2 separate regions of the Homo sapiens genome follow, and region 2 is linked to region 1. Evidence: promoter capture Hi-C in human tissues and cell types (Jung and others, 2019). All regions are on one chromosome and are shown on one strand. The core of a region is centred on a gene start or on the middle of the fragment in contact, and the rest is flanking DNA. Distances in the headings are between cores, read along the strand shown. Region 1 holds the start of OXTR (oxytocin receptor). Region 2 overlaps LOC107986061 (a long non-coding RNA gene).

Region 1 (4,250 bases), core at 1,751-4,250:
TTCGGGATGTTTCTGTGAGGGTATTTTTGGATGAGATTAACATCTGGAACAAAGTAGATCACCCACCATAACGTTGGTGGGCTTATCCAATCAGTTGAAGGTCTATATGGAACAAAAGACTGACCTCCCTGAGCAAGAAGGAATTCCGCAGCAGAGGACCTTTGGACTTGACCTGCAAAATCAGCTCTTCCCTGGGTCTCCAGCCTGTCAGCTCACTCTGAAGATTTTGGACTTGCCAGCCTCCATAACACATGAACCAATTCCTTAAATGAATCTCTTTCTCTACATATATACATCCCAATGGTTCTGTTTCTTTGGAAGACCGAAAGACACCCTGTAATGTCACATCTTTTGTCCATGCCTACAGCATCTCTTGCCTGGATCTCCAAGGCCTTCATAATGCCAGTATCTCCTTTCCCATCTTCCCTGTGGCTACCAGCATTCTCTCACCAAGCACAGATTTGAGTACGTTGTTTTGCTTGCAGTCCTTCCAGGCACCCCACCTTCCCCACCAATGCCTTCTAACCTCAGTCATCTTTACACTAGCACCTTCATGATTTTTGTTATATCAGACTTTCTCTTTGCTGACGTCAAAAGTAAGCAGAACTGAGAACTGAATTTCCTCCCTGTTATTCAGTATCACTCAATATTAAATTCACATTTAACACTATCAGAAAGTATTCCATCCCATATTTTGGGGAATGTTGGGTTACAGAATAAAACCCATTCTCCTTTACATGGCCTTGAAGTTCCTTTAGCATCAATAAGTACAGTTATCTCTTGGTATCCATGGGGGATTGGTTCCGGGAGCCTTCAAGGTACACAAATCCCTGATATAAAATGAAGCAGTATTTGCATATAACACGTGCATATCCTCTCACATACTTTAAGTCATCTCAAGATTACTTGTAACACCTAATGCAATGTCACTCGTCACTGCATTTGTGTGCATTCAGTGTTGTAGGTGGCACATGACAAATTCAATTTTTGCTTTTTGGAACTTTGAGGATTTTTTTTCCTGAATATTTTCAATCCATGATTGTTTGAATCCACTGAACTCACAGATACAGGGATATAGAGGGCCAACTGTATGTATTAAGTGCTGGCAATGTGCTAGGCACCAAGCAATTCATCTTTAGTCCTTCCTCCAAAACGCCAAAGTGATTCCCCTGCACCACTCTCTGAGAAGTATGCCTTTTTTCTTTGCTTCCTGGAGAACTCATTCTGGAGCTCTGAAATCCAGCTACCTCTTTGTAAAACGATCTCCCAAGTATTACCTCAGCCCCCAGCAGTCCTCACTTCTGTAACATCATTTATTGTTGTCACACTGCAAATATTAGGTTGATGCAAAAGTAATTGCAGTTTTTGCCATTATTTTTAATAGCAAAAACCACAATTACTTTTGCACCAATCTAATATGTGTTTTTCTCCCTGGCCGAAGCTCAAAGGTGAAGGAGCATGTCTTATTCATTGTTAGGAGTTTTCAAGGGGACCTCTCTATTTCCTGCCTGGTTTCTGCACACAATGAGAAATAAAACAAAAGACAGGAAATGGGGATCACACTATTACTGTTGTTGTTATTGTTGTTGTTTAGATTAAAACTAAGTTAGAGAATTTACCTTTTGCATGAGACTAAATAGCCCTGTTAGGTGAATCCAGAATTAGGCTGTCTCACGGGCTACGCGAGGACCACACAGGTAGGCAGGCTTCCCTACAAAGGGTAGAAGAGTCTGTCCTTGGTGAAGTGGCTCAGTAAACTTGCTCCCTAGAAAGCAGCTGTCTTCCAGGAGAAAGAAGGGCAGGCTTGGTTCTACAGGCCAGTGTTTTCCTTCTCACATTCACCGGTCAGGGGCTCATAGGGAAAAATCTGCCTTCATCCAGCCGTGGAGTGAGGCAGGGGTGTTTTACCTGCTAGGATTGAACCCTCAGATTGCACAGATTATACAGTTTCAGAAAACCAGAGGGACAGGACCTCAGACATTAGCTATCTTGACCAGTGCTCTCATTTTACATATGAGGAGACTGAGGCCCAAAGAGAAGGGGCTTGCCCAAGGTCACTTCATTCTCACCTGAGTCGTCTGTAACTTTAATCTGTAATTTTCGAGGCCGATAGGTACTATTGACTAATATTGATTAATACTGCCTGCCACCCCTTGGCAATGCTGTCAAGATTCCCAGCCCCATTCTGGAATGATTACTCAGCTAGAACCCTGGGATCCAGGTGCTGTAAGGTTGGCCCCTGGGATATCTCGGCATGGGGCTGTAATTGTGGATTAAGGAAACCCAGTCCTTGGCTAACTCAAGTCTCTCCACATAATAAAAAGACGGAGAAGTGAAATGTCAGGAGGAAATACACATTTAATGCATTTTAAAGAGCCCTGTTTATTTTTGAATCCTGGCCTTTTTTTCTGACTTAATTCTTGGCCACTGTAAATTACTTCAAAAAATGATTTTAGAATAGAGAAGGGGCAGGGAGGCTGAGAAGCTGTCTTTAACATTTTATCTTCCTTTGGCATCATTTAGAATTTTAATTCCGAAGCGCGACAAGGAGGCAGAAACGGCTCTTGGGCGCAGACAAGCAGAATCACTTTAAATGAAGACAGTGTTGTGCTTCAGAATTTCCTCTAAAACTACCGAAAAAATAACGCCTCTCCCAGCACTGCTTAGAATAGAGGCCATTTCTAATTCCTCATTAACGGGAATAGGAACAAAAGTATTCCAAAGCAAAGACTTATTTGAGTTCACTGCTAAAGCCGCTACATCAAGCTGGAGGTGTGGGGGGAGAGAAAAGCCTGAAAATTAACATCATTTTTGGGAAATAATCAGTTTAAATGCTTTTGTAACTTCATCACTATCTACCCGGGGAAGAACATTATTATTCAAGCCTCCTATGTGTCTCGGAGTCAAGAGCTTCTAAACCAAGAAAGGAAGAAACGGGCGGGTTATTGACGAGTTCCCTCCCTCTCGCAGTTTTAAACCACTGCAAAATAAACCCATTTGTTAAGGCTCTGGGACCAACGCTGGGCGAACCAGCTCCGCTCCGGAGGGGTCTGCGCGGCTGGCCTCGCCCGCCCCCTAGCGGACCCGTGCGATAGTGCAGCCTCAGCCCCAGCGCACAGCGCCGCATCCAGACGCTGTCCGCGCGCGCAGCCTGGGAGGCGCTCCTCGCTCGCCTCCTGTACCCATCCAGCGACCAGCCAGGCTGCGGCGAGGGGATTCCAACCGAGGCTCCAGTGAGAGACCTCAGCTTAGCATCACATTAGGTGCAGCCGGCAGGCCATCCCAACTCGGGCCGGGAGCGCACGCGTCACTGGGGCCGTCAGTCGCCGTGCAACTTCCCCGGGGGGAGTCAACTTTAGGTTCGCCTGCGGACTCGGTGCAGGTAGCTGGGTGCTAAGCAGGGGTGGACGGGATGGCTAGGGCCGGTGGAGCCATCGGGACCCGAGTGGAGGTGGTGGGGTGCCTCGCACTCCTTGTTCCTGGAGGAGCTCGGGGTGTTCCGAGAGATTGTAAAGTGACTTCTCGGGATTGAGACTCAGAGTCCTTGATTATCTGGGTCCAAAGCGCAAGTCAGGGGTTCCAGAACTTTCGAGGCTGCCGGGCTGGGGAGGAGCCCCGCGGGAGGTGTCTATGCCAGGGTCTGGGAACAGCGCTTGGGCATCTTGGGCTTTGAGGCAGGGGTTCCCCCAGCAGGGACTGCAGAACCGGGTTTCCACCGAAGCAGGTGCTGTGGAAGTTCAGGGAGTGACGGCCGACCGTCTTAGAAAAGGGGGTTAGACGGGGAAGGACCAGAGCTGGGGTTTCCCAGGCAAGTGGCTATTTGGGGATTTCCGGAGGAAGTACTTGAATTAATGTTTACTAGGAGAGGGGCTGGTTTGGGGGTCCCGCGGCAGGTGGATATGCTGAGGGTCGGAGCCTGGGGCGAGTAGGTAGTTTGGAGATTCCCTCGGGGAGGTGATTTGGTTTTAGATTCCCACTCCCGGAGGAACGTTGCTGATTTTGACCCTCCCTTCTCCCCCAGTGGAAGCCGCTGAACATCCCGAGGAACTGGCACGCTGGGGGCTCTGGGCTTGTGGCCGGTAGAGGATTCCCGCTCATTTGCAGTGGCTCAGAGGAGGTACCTCCAACGGGGATTTCTGGGGTGGCGGCTGAGCAACCCGAGGCCGGCGGTTGTGCCCTGTTGTTTCAGATGAGTTGGGTTCCTGGGAATGGGACAAGCACGCCCTACCCGCGTCGGAAGAGAAACGCGG
Region 2 (4,250 bases), core at 503-3,002, 55 kb before region 1:
GTGTATTTTTCCATTTTACTGTAGATGGACATTTGTATTTTTTCTGGTTTTCATGTATTATAAACTATAGATACATATAATATAAACAATATAGTAGTGAATGTTCTTCTACACATTTCTTGGTGTGCAAGAAGGGTTATAGGATATACATATCTTCAATTTTACTTAGTCATACAAACTCTTTTCCAAAGTGATTGTACCAATTTACAATCTCAAAGCAGTGTGTGACTTTCTATTGTGCTATAATATTGCTATCACTTGGTATTGACTTTGCCAAAATGGTGAGCATGAAATAATTTACGTTGTGTATATCTCTGATGTCTGTTGAGGGTTGAGGTTGCATATTTCTTCGTATGGGACCAAAAGCCTTTACTTTTCTCTGAAATACTTGTTCTTTTATCTTGCTCATTTTTTTTTGACCGGGCTATGTATTAGTCAGGGTTCTCCAGAGAAACAGAACAAATAGGAGATACATAGGGAGAGATTTATTGTGAGGAATTGGCTCACATGTTTACAGAGACTGAAATGTCCCATGATCTGCTGTCCACAAGCTGAAGACCCAGGAAAGCTGGTGGTGTAATTCCATTCTGAGTCCAAAGGCCTGAGTACTAGGAGAGCTGATAGTTTTATACTAGTCTATGGGCAGGAGAAGGCAGTTGTCTCAGCTCAGTCAAAGACATTAAGCAAAAATTCCTCCTTCCTCTGCCTTTTTTGTTTATCTAGGCTCTCAATGGGTTGAATGATGCCCACCAACATTGAGGAGGCAATCTACTTTACTGGGTCCACTGATTCAAATACTAATCTTATCTTGGAAAACCCTCACAGACACACTCAGAAGCAGTGTTTGGTCTGGGCACCCCATGGTGCAGTCAAGTTGATACATAAAATTAACCATTGTGGGCTATTTGCTTTTTTTCTTAGTGATTTCTAGGAGCTGTTCTATATTCTAGATAAGGGCTTCTCAACAGAACTTTCTGTGATGATAGAAATGTTCTCTGTCTGCACTGTCCAATATGGTAGCCACTAGCCACATGCTACTGAGCATTTGAAACTAGTGCAGCAGAGGAACTAAATTTTCAATATTATTTTTAGTGTGTTTATTTATTTATGTATTTATTTTGAGATGGAGTTTTGCTCTTGTTGCCCAGGCTGGAGTGTAGTGGCGCGATCTTGGCTCACTGCAACTTCTGTCTCTCAGGTTCAAGTGATTCACCTGCCTCAGCCTCCCAAGAAGCTGGATTACAGAGGCATGTACCACGACACCCAGCTAATTTTTTTATTTTTGGTAGATATGGGGTTTCACCATGTTGGTGAGGCTGGTCTCAAAATCCTGACCTCAGGTGATCCACCCACCTTGGCCTCCCAAAGTGCTGGTATTACAGGCGTGAGCCACTGTGCCCAGTCTATTTTTAGTTTTAATAGCCATATATCTAATAGCTGCCATCTTGGACAGCAGAGGTCTAAGTAACAATTATTTGTTGGCTTTAAGTTTTGCAAATGTCTTCTCCAAGTTTGTGAACTGTCTTTTCACTCCTTTCAAGTTGCTTTTGATGAACAGAAGTCCTTAATTTTAATGTATTGAATATTATTAACCTGTTCCTTTACAGTTGGTGTATTTATATATCTTGTTTATAAAATCCTTTCTCATACTTTCTTATCTTAGTATATTTTCTTATACTGAGGTCTGAGGAACTGATTTTTGTGTTTATAATTTTCTTCCCTCATGAGTCATCAGTTTTCCTAGCACAGTTTACTGAATGAGCCTTCTTTTCCTCACCAATCTGCAGGACTGCCTGTATCAATCAGGGTACTGGCGAGAAACAGAAGGCACACTCAAACATTAACATTAAAGAGAGTTTAAAAAAGGCAGTATTTACAAAGGAGAGGCTGAGGTAAGGGAAACTAATAGGTGATGAAGCACCTATTAGTGAAGCATCACTAATAGGTGATGAAGCAGTTTCAACTGGCAAGAGCTGAAACCCTTACCACTTCTAACCTTGAGAGTCAAGGAAAGGCAGGAGTTACTGGACCCAGAGGGAGGAGTGGAGGAAGACCTCCAAATAGAAGGGGAGACTTCCACAGAGAAACATACCAATCACCTTGACCCAGGAGAGACAGAGTTGGCCAGAGGACTAAACACCTGTCTGCTCAACCTCATGCTGTCCCTCCTGTAGATTTGGTGGTAAATCCACCATAACCCAGCTGGAAGCCAGAGGGCAGGGAACCCACCAATGCAGGCCACAGAGGTCTGCTCTGGAGTACAGAACTGAGTGGAGCAGGTTGGAGACTGCATCTGGGTGAACAAATAAACCATCAAGCACACCTGCATGGTTATAAATCTATTTTCCATAAATGCATGGGTAGGTACAAGATCTCTCTCCATACTGTGCCACTGATCTATTTGCAGCACTCCACGCTGCTTTAAGTATTAAAGCTTTAAATATATTTTCATATTTGAGAGGGCAAGAATCATCACCTTGTTTTTCCTCTTCAGGAATGTCTTGGCCATTCCCTGCCTTTTGTTCTTCCATTTATATTTCAGAATCAGCTTGCCAGTATTCATGAAGAACTCTGTTGGAATTGTGACGGGAGTTGCAATGAGTCTCTAGATCAATTGGAAGAGAGCTGACATATTTACAATTCCTTCCACGGATAGGGTTTATGTCTCCACATACTTAGGTCTTATTTAATATATTTCTTAATAAGGTTTTATCATACTCTCTATAAAGAGCTTCCTTTTTTTGTTATTTTTTTTCTAGGTACCTATTTTTGTTGCTATGGTAAATATCTTTTTTTTTTAAATAAAAAAGTCACTTTTTGCCTGATGCTTGTATATAAAAATGAAATTATTTTTGTCTATTTTGGACTGAGCAACCTTACTAAATTATCTTAGTAATTCTAATGATTTACCTGAGAGTTCTTTGGAGTTTTCTTTGCAGACAGACGTATTATCTGCAAATAATGATAGTGTTGTTTCTTCCTTTACAATCCATATATCTTTACTTTTTAATCTTCTGTACCATTTAGGACTTCTAGTTAAGTGTAGAATAGAAGTTGATATTAGCATACATCCTTAACTTTCAGGCTCCTGATTTTCAGGGGAATGCTTTCAATATTTCAACATTAATTATAATGCCCTCTGTAACTTCTTGTAGAAGCACTTTATCACGTTAATCAAATGCCCCCTACTATTTCTAGGTTAAGTGTTTTTGTTTTTAACATGAAAGTAAGTCGAATTTTATTAAATGCTCTTACTGCATTAATTGGGGTTATCATAGGAGTTTTCTTCCAACCGCATTTGGAATAGTCCAATTTCTAATTGCTAAATTCCTACCCAGTTTTCAAGGGTAGGATCATTCCCCACTCCCCATCATAAGGCATCCCTTTTCCTCTCCCTTTATTTCATAGTCCCTTTGTAGAAGGAAATCATATATTCACTTATGCATCCCCCAATGCCCAGCACACAAGCACATAGTAAATGCTAACAAAATGTCGGTTGAATTATGGAGCGAGTCATTCTTGTGGCACTTTATAGCTTTGATTTTATACTTTCATATCCACGTTTCTTTTCTCGCCTCTGGACTGGAAGCTTTAGAGGACAGAGTCCACATCTGATGATTCTCGTTATTCCTCTAGGACACAATCCAGGGACTGATTCAGAACCTTGTTCACCAATAGATGATTCCTTGCTTTCCTTGGTAAACTCCATCATCAAAACCATCCAACCAGTCTTCCAGGAGTAGCCAATCTCTCTTCATAGTCCGCTCTGCAGAGAGAGAGGTTTATTTCACTCTCACCCTCAGGGAACCAGGCCAGTTCTGATGACTAAGGGCAAAATAATTTGCTCCTTTGCTGAGATTAATTTCTAAAAAATGATTTTGCAATAGCCTGGGCTTGACTGGCCAGGGGTGAAGGAAGGAGAAAGAAGCCATAAAGAGCATTTCTTCCCTCTAATGAAACTGAACCAAGGACAGGACAATAAGCCAGGGAGTCAGCCATTGATGGGTCTTTACTCAGCCCTTACTTTGTTCCCGGCCCTATTGCTAGGCATTGTAGAAGTGGGAGAGACATGCTGGCCTCTTTCCTGAATGCTTGGAATTTATTTTTCACCTTGGAAACAGAAATTTCACATTTGACAAGTTAAACAATACGACAAGGCCGTCTGTTTACTCATTCATCCATTTATTCTTCCGTTCATTTATTCATATAGTGTTAAACAATACGACAAGGCCATCTGTTTACTCGTTCAT

Evidence for each region. Contacts are between HindIII fragments. The study calls those that stand out against the background at their distance.
Region 2: a contact is called between a fragment that was not itself captured here and the fragment with the promoter of OXTR in region 1, in 3 of the 25 tissues and cell types used here (IMR-90 fibroblasts, aorta and mesenchymal stem cells).

The regions. Positions count from the first base shown.
Region 1 is chr3:8,768,363-8,772,612 of GRCh38, reverse strand. It overlaps OXTR (oxytocin receptor), which reads left to right and starts at 3,000. Exons shown (of 4, transcript NM_000916.4): 1 at 3,000-3,382; 2 at 4,022-4,117. RefSeq lists enhancers at 2,836-2,885, 3,533-4,204. The HindIII fragment of the contact is 11,538 bases long and covers 1-4,250 here.
Region 2 is chr3:8,821,928-8,826,177 of GRCh38, reverse strand. LOC107986061 (a long non-coding RNA gene) reads left to right here. Exons shown (of 2, transcript XR_001740592.2): 1 at 1-1,909; 2 at 1,946-4,250. Among named protein-coding and RNA genes, the nearest start is that of OXTR, 54 kb to the right of the region's middle. The HindIII fragment of the contact is 6,649 bases long and covers 1-4,250 here.